Linked DNA regions of Homo sapiens: region 1 is linked to region 2. The links are contacts of gene promoters, found by promoter capture Hi-C in blood cells and fetal thymus (Javierre and others, 2016). All regions are on one chromosome and are shown on one strand. Each heading gives the region's core, a stretch centred on a gene start or on the middle of the fragment in contact. The rest is flanking DNA. Distances are from core to core; before and after follow the strand shown. Region 1 holds the start of KRTAP13-3 (keratin associated protein 13-3). Region 2 holds the start of KRTAP23-1 (keratin associated protein 23-1).

Region 1 (5,248 bases), core at 161-2,660, 77 kb before region 2:
GTAGAAAGAGTGAAGGGGGAAGTGCTACACATTTTTAAACAACCAGATCTCATGAGAGCTAACTCACTAGCACGAGAACAGCAAGGGGGAAATCCACCCCCATGATCCAATCATCTCCCACCAGGCCTTCCCCAACACTGGGGATTACAATTTGGCCTGAGATTTGGGCAGGGACACAAATCCAAACAGTATCACTTTTTAAAAAGTATAAACAAGATTAAATATTTACAGATTTTCTGCATTTTTTCTCTTTCCAGAGTCTCCCCTGAGAGAGGCTGGGAGAGTTGTAAGATTTGGACATAGGTCTGGCCCAAGTGAAGGAGAAAGAGAAAGAAGTGCTTGAGACCTATGCAGGAGACAGTAGTTCTTTAAGGCCGTTGAGGAAACCCTGAGTCAAAGCTGGCCGTCAATTGTCTTCCAGGAATTCCTATATCCCACTGTGCTCAGTCTTTGCTTGGGAGCAGCCCAGAGAAAGCAAGCCTTCCCCAAAAATGCAGTGTTAACTTTTAGAACACAGCAGGTAGGACCACTGGTTATTTAAGCCTCCTGTAATTTAAGATCCGAGATGAGAATTCTCCAGGCTGCCACACATATGAATGAGAATCTCTTAGGACCATGGGCCTCATATTAGATGCATTGAATCTAAAATTCATTTATTTTTTTCTGTCATTTCAATGGTGTGTGTTTATTTAACACTTTAATTCTCTTCATAAGGCCCCAGAATTGTTTTTCATTTGTGATTGTCTCAGTTCCATCCCTTGCTGTCACCATGTCTCCAAATAATTGTCCAGGTTTCCTTCTGGTCATAGGCATCAATGTTATTCAATTTGTCTTGGCTCATACTTTTCCCTCTACACTGGATGTGAGACACAGTGAGTAACAGTACATAATAGATGAAGGAAACTTTTGTGGAATGAGAAAGGATGGTGACATGTAGGTTTAGTTTTCAGCAGGTTTCTCATTAAGGCCAAAGTTGTGTCTCTAATCCATTGACAAAAAAGACATGTAACTTTATCTCATTTCTCACTGTTTAGGGAAAATTATTGCCCATAACAGCCAATAACAAGACACATGAAAATTATGCTAGGAGGAAAAGGAGGTGCTTTCCTAGACATAATAAAATAAATATTAATACGAAACAGTCATAGCATTTCTGGCATAAGTGCAGTTCATTGGCTTTGTGCTATAACACCAAAATTATAGCACGCATAAATACAACATGTGGAAAAGTATTCAAATGCAATTACAGGCAAGATTGCTGAGCTACACATATGTAAATGAGGGAGCACAAAAATGTGAGGGATGACTCTGCTGTGCACCACACCTATTGCTGAGAGGATATAAATGACACTGTCCAGGATGCCACGTTAAAACTCAGAATCTTCCCAGGTACACTCAGCTGAACTCACATCTTCCCGTCAACATGTCCTACAACTGTTGCTCTAGAAACTTCTCCTCCTGCTCCCACGGGGGTTACTTGCACTACCCAGGCTCCTCCTGTGGCTCTTCCTACCCCAGCAACCTGGTCTACAGCACTGACCTCTGCTCTCCCAGCACCTGCCAGCTGGGTTCCTCTCTCTATAGGGGCTGTCAGGAGACCTGCTGGAGGCCCAACAGCTGTCAGACATTGTGTGTTGAGTCCAGCCCCTGCCACACCTCCTGCTACTACCCCAGGACTCACATGCTCTGCAATTCTTGCCTGACTATGCATGTTGGGTCTCGGGGTTTTGGATCCAATAGCTGCTGCTCCCTGAGCTGTGGATCCAGGAGCTGCTCCTCACTGGGCTGTGGATCCAATGGCTTCAGATATCTGAATTATAGAATCCATACCTCCCCTTCCCAGAGTTATAGATCCAGATTCTGCCATCCAATCTATTTTCCACCTAGAAGGTGGTTCCATTCATCTTGTTATCAGCCATTCTGTAGATCTGGTTTCTACTGACTAATGTGGTGACTGGTAAAACTCATTTGAGAAATGCATATTCTTTAGTAAGGTCATCTGTTAATTTCTTCCTTTGAGAAGTATTCTAATATTATTGATCACCAGGTCTTCCTTACTTTCCAGCCCTCAAAAACTGGGTTGTATGTTAGTTCTGTCAAACTGCAGTTTGGATCAATGAATAATCTATAACTGGATCAATCTGGATCTATAACTCTGGGAAGGGAAGGCATGGATTTTATAATTCAGATATCTGAAGCCATTGGATCAATGAGTGATCCAAACTGCATTATAGATATAATTTATAGTTTTTGTATTTCTTTCCAAAAGAGATAGGAAGTGAAAAAGATTTTATTTTAATAAACTCTTTATTCTTCTGTCCAAATGTGCTGTTAATATTGCTATTTATTAGTAAAGCATTGTCTAGGATGTGCATTGTCATTGCTTCTGGTAATGGGCTTTGCAATGCCCAGATTGTGGGATCTCCACACTAATTTTGGTTGGGCTTTAGATATTTTCCTCCTCTTTAAGCAGGAGTTTCTGGGATTCTCACAGTTTCCAAGGATAGCCTTTCTCTTAAGTATCCTCGTCAGGATAGTTAAGATAGCCTTTGCTATCATTTTTGATGATAACCTTTCATCAGAATCATCAAAAATGATTGTTTGGGTTGTATCTTGAAATAAAATTGGATAGGCTGTATTTATACTGTTCTGTTCTCTCACATCAAAGCGTTATAAAAAGTAAGTTACTGATAGTATTAAGAGCATTGACTATCCTTGTTCATTCCTTGAATATGCCATGCATCTCTAAGGACAGAATGTAACAGAAAAGTTTGAAGAGTACATGAACAAAATTCATACTTATATGATTAGGCCTGTTCATGAAGTATATTAAAATGGAAGACTAACACATGGATGTAAATGTTTAGAAAAGAGCACCTATGAGCTTCAGGTATCATAGTGCAGGAGTATCACTTATTTTTAATTAGCTAAATCCCTGAACCCCAATTACTGTTTTCAATCTGCTCAAATGATCTCCATTTGTTTAAAAAGGCAGGCAACAAACTTTGATGGGAAGGAAGTAGGCTCAGCAGGTGTTAGTTGTACCTGGGTTCTTTGCCAAAATATAAACTGAATCTAATTGAAAACTCTGAAGCCTTTACTATCATCAAAAATGATTGTTTTTTGTCGTATCTTGAAATAAAATTGGATAGACTGTACTTATGCTGTTCTGCTCTCTTACATCCAAGTGTTATAAAAAGTAAGGTACTAAGACAATACGATGGTAATGGCAGACATAATATTTATATAAAACAAGCAATGTTCAAGTATTTTCCTATTCTTTATTTTATAAGATCTTCTAACATTCTCTGAAATTAGAAATATAATGCAGATTATTAGACACTTCACAAAAAACTTAGTCTTATAAGTACATAACAGTCATCTCATCATGTTCTCTTCCTCTTTTACTGCGAATGTGATAAAATATGAAATATAAAGAGAGCTGTAGAGTTCATCGACTTCAATATTCTTATTCTACAGAGGTGGAAATGGAAACAGTAGCGTTAGATAGAATTTTAAAATGTTACTCAGCAAGCTATTGTAGAGCTGTGAGTAGAACTACTTTATTCCACCCAATTTATTTTATTGGATCTATCCAGCTGTGACATTTTCTCTTATCTCCTCACTTCCGTCATTTGCTCCCTATTTTCCTCTTCTTCTTCTTCTCCCTCCTCCTTCTCCTCCATCATGTTTAGGAAATAGTCATGGTGCTTATATAGTTAGAGGAAAGAAATAAGGAATAATGAAAGAAAATGCATAGGAAAAATTATCAGTGATTGAGTTACAAAAATTAAAATGACAAACTGTGAAATCCTCTATAAACTTGGTCCTTTTTATAACTTCATGGATTTTTTGAATTTTAGTGATTCTAGTTAGTCCCATGCTCATAATATTTACTCAAGAGTAATGATCAAGCCTTATATCCCCAAAACATAGGCAATGGTAAGGGTTTAATGAGGAGCACCTATAGCTTATTGGCCAGGCTGAGGTTTCCTCTGTTACTGTCTCCAAATTGCAGATGCAGGAATGGTTTTCTGGCTTTCAGGAATACACTTTAATCTTGGTTTCCTATTACTGCCATAGCAAATTAGATTAAACTTAGAGTTTTAAGCAATACAAATTTATTATCTTTTAATTCTGTAGGTCAAAATCTGATGAATTGATGACCTCACTGGGCTAAATCAAAGTATTAGCAGGGCTGAGTTTCTTTCCAGAGGCTCTAAGGGAGAATCTATTTCCTTGCTTTTTACAGATTCTAGAGAAGGTGTCCCCAACCTCCGGGCCATGAACTGGTACTGGTCCATGGCATGTTAGGAACCAGGCAGCCCAGCAGGAGGTGAGTGGCAGTTGAGCAATTGTTACTGCCTGAGCTCCACCTCCTGTCAGATCAGCAGTAGCATTAGATTCTCATCAGAGCACAAACCCTGTTGTGAACTGCACATGCGAGAGATCTTGGTTGCGCATTCCTTATGAGAATCTAATGCCTGATGATCTGTCTTCCATCATCTGAAGATGGGACCATCTATTTGCAGAAAAACGAGCCCAGGTCTCCCACCAGTTCTACATTCTGGTGAGTTGTATTGTTATTTCATGATATATTACAATGTAATAATAATAGAAATAAAGTGCACAATAAATGGAATGTGCTTGAATCATCCCCAAACCATCCCTCCCCACCTGCTCCAATCTGTGGAAAAACTCTTTCAGGAAACCTGACCCTGGTACCAAAAAGTTTGGAGATGGATGTTCTAGAGGCCACCTACATTTTTTGGTTCATGGTCCCATTCCTCTGTCTCCAAAGACAGCAGTGGTGAGTCCAATCATTTTCATAGTGGATCGCTTAGACCTACTTTTCTGCCTTTACCTCCCACTTCATACTTACAATTACATTGGGTTCGGCTGGGTAATCCAAGATACTCACCCTGTTTTAGCAAGCTTAATTTCATCTGTAACTTTAATTCTTCTTTGCCATGTGAAGGAACATATTTACAAATTCCAGAATTTAGAATTTGAACATCTTTTAGGAGCCATTATTCTGCCTACCAAAACTAGTAAACATGCAAATTTAGAAAATAACTCAAAGATAGATTGATCACAGATAGATAGCAGTATAATAGAGTGCTCACAAACAAATGATCAAAACTCAATGATGGGGACTCTGAACTTATACCACAATTGCCCCGGTTATTATATAAAGGTACCATTTCTAGCTGATAGTCAAAACAAGAAAGTTTTATTATTTTATCAC
Region 2 (5,244 bases), core at 68-2,567:
TGTTTTATAGTGGTAAAGATAATTTTAACCACTTAATATAATGGTAAATTTTATGCTGCTTTGTCTTCCTAGAAGGATGAACAAGAGAAGCTCAGCAAGGAGTGAAATGAATCACTCTGGAAGGTGTCGTATTTCTCACTCCCAACTGAGTTGGCAAAAGGTCGGCACCCTATTAAAATTCAAGCTTCTGCAAATGTATTTTATTGGTAGTCAACTCACTAAAGGCATATCAGTTTTTCGCAACTAGTCCCAGTGAAAGTCTGTGTTTGCCAAAGAATTTTCTGCCTCACACTGAAAAAGAATCTAATAACTCCATGGTGGATAAAACATGAGTTGCTTAACTAGGATAAACTGAGTGAGAGGGCAAATAGAAGATAATTTGTAACAAAGCATCTCCATAGTAACTCTGAATACTAAAAAAATAACCAAAATCAATTAAGAAGCTGTCCCCTCAGTTGGCTATATTTGGGGAATTCATAAAAGGGGTAAGAATACTCAAGTAGATATATCAGATGAAATGCAAATATTAACACCTTGGAATTTTTTTTTCACCTGCATACTCAATTGTCCATGTGATTCTGGGAGCAGAAATTACAAGCTTCACAAATTGTCTATATAGCTCTGTGGTTTGTGCTAGCCTTAAAGACAGACACACCTGGGATGACATGGGGTCCATGATTTGTTTGATTTATTACCTGAATGTTACATAACTTTTCCAAACCTCCATGGCCTTACTTCTAAATTGTTTATGACAACTTGTATCTCATAAGATATTTGCAAAGATTAAATCATACCACACTTTTAAATGTTGCGCATGTAGTTAATGCTTAATAAAACATATGTAAATAATGGGGGGTGGGTGGCTGCTGATTACTGTTGGGAGTACATTGCTGGTAAGAATTTGTAGGCTGAAGCTCAGAATACCCACAGTCAAGCTCAGTAAAAGGGGTGGGGAGGCACTGTATGTATCATCACCAATGTTTCTGAAAGCAAACCAAACCTTATTTCTGCAGAGAGAGAGAGAGAGAGAGAGAGAGAGAAAGAGACAGAGAGAGAGAGAGAGAGAAGCCAATGGGCTTCTATAAACTGGAATGATTACACTGCTGTTAAAGACAAATGAATGTGTTGAGTTATAATTATAACCTAGGTTACTTAGTCATTTGATGAAAACACATTCACAAGAATGGGGGGGTTCCCGGATACTGCATCACGCCCAGCAGTGTGAGGGTGTAAACATCACTGGATCATTGGGCACAGGCAGGGACATCAGGGCATCTTCTCAATGCAGCTCAGCTGAACTCACATCTCCTGTCAACATGTCCTACAACTGCTGCTGTGGAAACTTCTCCTCCCATTCCTGTGAGGGCTACCTGTGCTACTCAGGCTACTCCCGTGGTGGCTCCTCGTACCCCAGCAACCTGGTCTACAGCACTGAACCTTTGATCTCCCAGCACCTGCCAGCTGGGTTCCTCTCTCTGCAAGGGCTTTCAGGAGACTTGCTGGGAAACCCCTAGCTGCCAGATGTCCTGTGTGGAGTCCAGCCCCTGCCAGACCTCCTGCTACCGCCCCAGAAGCTCCGTGCTCTGCAGTCCCTGCCAGTCGACTTACTCTGAGTCTCTAGGCTTTGGATCCAGCAGCTGCCGCTCCCTGGGCTATGGATCTAGGAGCTGCTACTCAGTGGGCCGTGGGTCCAGTGGCGTCAGATCCCTGGGTTATGGAGGCTGTGGCTTCCCTTCCCTGGGCTATGGATCTGGATTCTGCCACCCAACATATGTTCTCTTTAGGACATTCCAGTCTTCCTGTTACAGACCAACTTGTGGATCTGGCTTCTACCGATCAACTTGCTAAGGGCTCCAAACCTCCACATTACAATTATTTCTCTCAAAGTCCATCTCAGCTATCATCTGGCTAGAACCTATATTCTACTATCCAGAAAAGATAATTGTTTTAAACTTATTAATATTAAAATAACATTTCTCATAGAATACTCATCTCTTTTTCTTCTGTTTTCTTGTATTTTCCCTTCCTTCTCTAGTTAAAAATGGAGCAAGAGTTGATTTCTTTTTCTTCAAATAAACTCATTTAATCTGATATCAGATCACAAATCTTGTGTTAATTTTCTTTATAAGATGTCTGTCGGGAATTTGAAACCCCCACTTTTTGTCTAAAAATAAAATATTCACTTTGAGGGAAAGGAGTAGGTTCCTTGATAGGCAGAGTTTTCTAACAACAGAGATCTAGTTCCTGGGAATTTCTGCCAAGTAGACTCAGAGATAGGACAGGAGATTATCTCTGTTTTTCTATTCATGGCCATTTAGGCCTAATCAGGACACTTCACTTTGGTTAAGCTACTCATGGGTCTAGTCTAGGAAGAAAATATCCAGAGACAGCAGTGATGTTTTAGCAAGTACTAGCCTGGCTGTTTTTATGAGAACATTATCAAAATCCTTCCTGTAATCTTCCTTCCCAGACATATATAAGCCACAATGAAATTCTGAGGTCAGGATTTTAACTGAGTTCAGTAGCAAGTGTAATGAAACAAATAGTTTAGGTATACATGAAATTAAAGATGTATGCATTCCACTATAATAAGAAGAATATAATATCTAAGAGTTTTTTTTTTTTTAATTTGATGGTTCACTCCCTCCTCCTTTCATTAGGTCACTATAAAGCCATCCGGTGTTATAATAGAAGTCACCTGAAAACTGTCTGAAACCTGGCAGTATCATGCATAGGTGACACGGACTGAGAGATAAGACTTTACCTCTTGATATCCTGGGCTTGTATCTGGATGCAAAACTAGACAGTCCATTATATTCTTACATTAAGTGGAACACAGTCATATACATTTTCAAATATCTAAATGGAGGTGGGTAGCTCATCGTTCACTGCTCTCACAGCTGTTTTCCTTCTCGCTCTTCTTTCTATGGAAATTGGATTTTGTTTGTGCATCCCTCCTCGTCCACACATAGTCCTGCAAATGAACGTGATTATGCCTTAGGCTTAAGGATTGAATTTGGCTACTCTAGAGCGCCCCAATGCCTACTGAAAGTGATTGGCTCAGGAATGAGCATGTGATCTGAGGTAAGCCAATGAGAAACAAGGAGCCATGTGGAACAATGCTTCTGGTAAAGTTCCTTCTCTGGGGTTTCTTTCTTTTTTTTTTTTTTTTTCTGAGATGGAGTCTTGCTCTGTCACCCAGACTAGAGTGCAGTGGCGCAATCTCGGCTCACTGCAAGCCCCGCCTTCTGGGTTCACGCCATTCTCCTGCCTCAGCCTCACGAGTAGCTGGGACTACAGGCGCCTGCCACCATGCCTGGCTCATTTTTTGTATTTTTAGTAGAGACGGGGTTTCACCGTGTTAGCCAGGATGGTCTCGATCTCCTGACCTCGCAATCTGCCCACCTCGGCCTCCCAAAGTGTCTCTGGGATTTCTTAAAACGATTCTCTCTACCTCTGGACTTTGTTATATGTGGAATGCTGCATCCGTTTTGCATATGGCCTGAATTTTTTTTTTTTTTCTTGAGACAGGGTCTCCCTCTGTTGCCCAGGCTGGAGTGCAGTGGCACAATCTCAGCTCACTATAACCTCTTCCTCCTGGTTCCAAGTGATTCTCTCCTGCCTCCAACGATTCTCTCCTGCCTCAGCCTCCTGAGTAGCTGGGATTACAGGTGCATGCCACCACGCCCAGCTAGTTTTTGTATTTTTTGTAGAGATGGGGTTTTGCCATGTTGGCCAGGCTGTTGACGAACTCCTGACCTCAAGTGTTCTGCCTGCCTCAGCCTCCCAAAGTGCTGGGATTACAGGTGTGAGCCACCATACCCGATCTAACCTGAAAATTAAACCATCAAATGAAAGAGGCCAGAACCAAGAGAAATGCAGGAGGACAGAACCTGGACCATCTCACTTCTGGACACTGGTTTATGTAAGCCAATAAAATTTCTTATCGCTTAAGCCATTTTGAATTACAATTTCTGTTACTCGTAGATAACATGTTTTTAAATGAGACACTCATTTAAAACCTTCAACAATCCTCCTTCCCAATGAAGACCCCTTAATATAATTGCAAAGCCCATTTGCAGCCCATTTCTGCCTTCCCTCCAGCCCCTTTCAAAGCTCTTGGGTGACTAGGTGCATAGTCAACGAGCACTAATATTTTGAAAGGAATCTTTCTTTAGTAGTAGGTCTCAACCATGGGCTTCAAATATTCAGTAAACCATGCTGTAAACAGATGTGCTGTCATCCAGGCTTTGTTGTTCCTTTTACAGAGCACAAGTGGAATAGATTTACAATAATACTTAAGGGCCTTGTGATTTTCAGAATGGTAAATGAGCATTGGCTTCAACTTGTCACCAGCTGCATTAGCCCATAAAAAAGAGTCAGCCTGTCCTTTGAAACTTTGGAGCCAGGCATTGACTTCTCTCTAACTATGAAAGTCCTAGATGATGTTATCTTCCAACAGAATGCTCTTTTATCTACATTGAAATTCTGCTGTTTTGTGTAGCCACCTTCTTCAATGATCTTGGCTAGATCTTCTGGATAACTTGCAGCAGTTTCTCCATCAGCACTTACTGCTTTACCTTGCACTTTTATGTTATAGAGATGGCTTCCTTCCTTAAACCTCATGAATCAGCCTCTGCTAGCTTCTGACTTTTCTTCTAAAGCTTCCTTACCTCTCTCAGTATTCATACAATTGAAGAGAGTTAGCGCCTCCCCCTGGATTAGGTTTTGGCTTAAGGGAATGTTGTGGCTGGTTTGATCTTCTATCCAGGCTGCTAAAACTTTCTCCATATCAGCAAGGAGCTTGTTTTGCTTTCTTATCATTTGTGTGTTCATATAGAGTATCATTTTTTTCGTTAGTATAGGTTAGCACTTTTAATTTCCTTTAAGGACTTTTCCTTTGCATTCACAAGTTAGCTATTTGGTGCAAGAGGCCTAGCTTTCAGTCTATCTCAGCTTTCAACATTGGCTTCCTCACTAAGCTTAATCATTTTTAGCTTTTGATTTAAAATAAGGGTATGTGACTCTTCCTCTCACTTGAACACACAGAGGCCATTTTAGGGTTATTGATTGGACTAATTGCAATATTGTTGTGTCTCAGGGAAGAGGGAAGCCTGAAGAAAGGGAGAGAGACAGGGGTGTACCATTCGATGGAACGGTTGTAACACACACAACATTTGATTTATTAAGTTTGTTGTCTTATTGATATGGGAGGGGGCAGGGAAGTTCTGGGTAGAGAAAGGT

What was found. Contacts are between HindIII fragments. The CHiCAGO score rates a contact against its expected background, and 5 or more counts as called.
Region 1: a contact is called between the fragment with the promoter of KRTAP13-3 here and the fragment with the promoter of KRTAP23-1 in region 2, in 6 of 17 cell types (neutrophils, total B cells, M2 macrophages and 3 more). The highest score is 9.2, in neutrophils.

What each region holds. Positions count from the first base shown.
Region 1 is chr21:30,422,088-30,427,335 of GRCh38, reverse strand. KRTAP13-3 (keratin associated protein 13-3) reads left to right here and starts at 1,410. Exons shown (of 1, transcript NM_181622.2): 1 at 1,410-1,956. The coding sequence starts at 1,424. The coding sequence ends at 1,942. The region is part of intron 3 of LOC105372772 (a long non-coding RNA gene); the gene reads left to right. The HindIII fragment of the contact is 9,043 bases long and covers 1-4,937 here.
Region 2 is chr21:30,344,679-30,349,922 of GRCh38, reverse strand. KRTAP23-1 (keratin associated protein 23-1) reads left to right here and starts at 1,317. Exons shown (of 1, transcript NM_181624.1): 1 at 1,317-1,524. The coding sequence starts at 1,317. The coding sequence ends at 1,514. The HindIII fragment of the contact is 4,066 bases long and covers 601-4,666 here.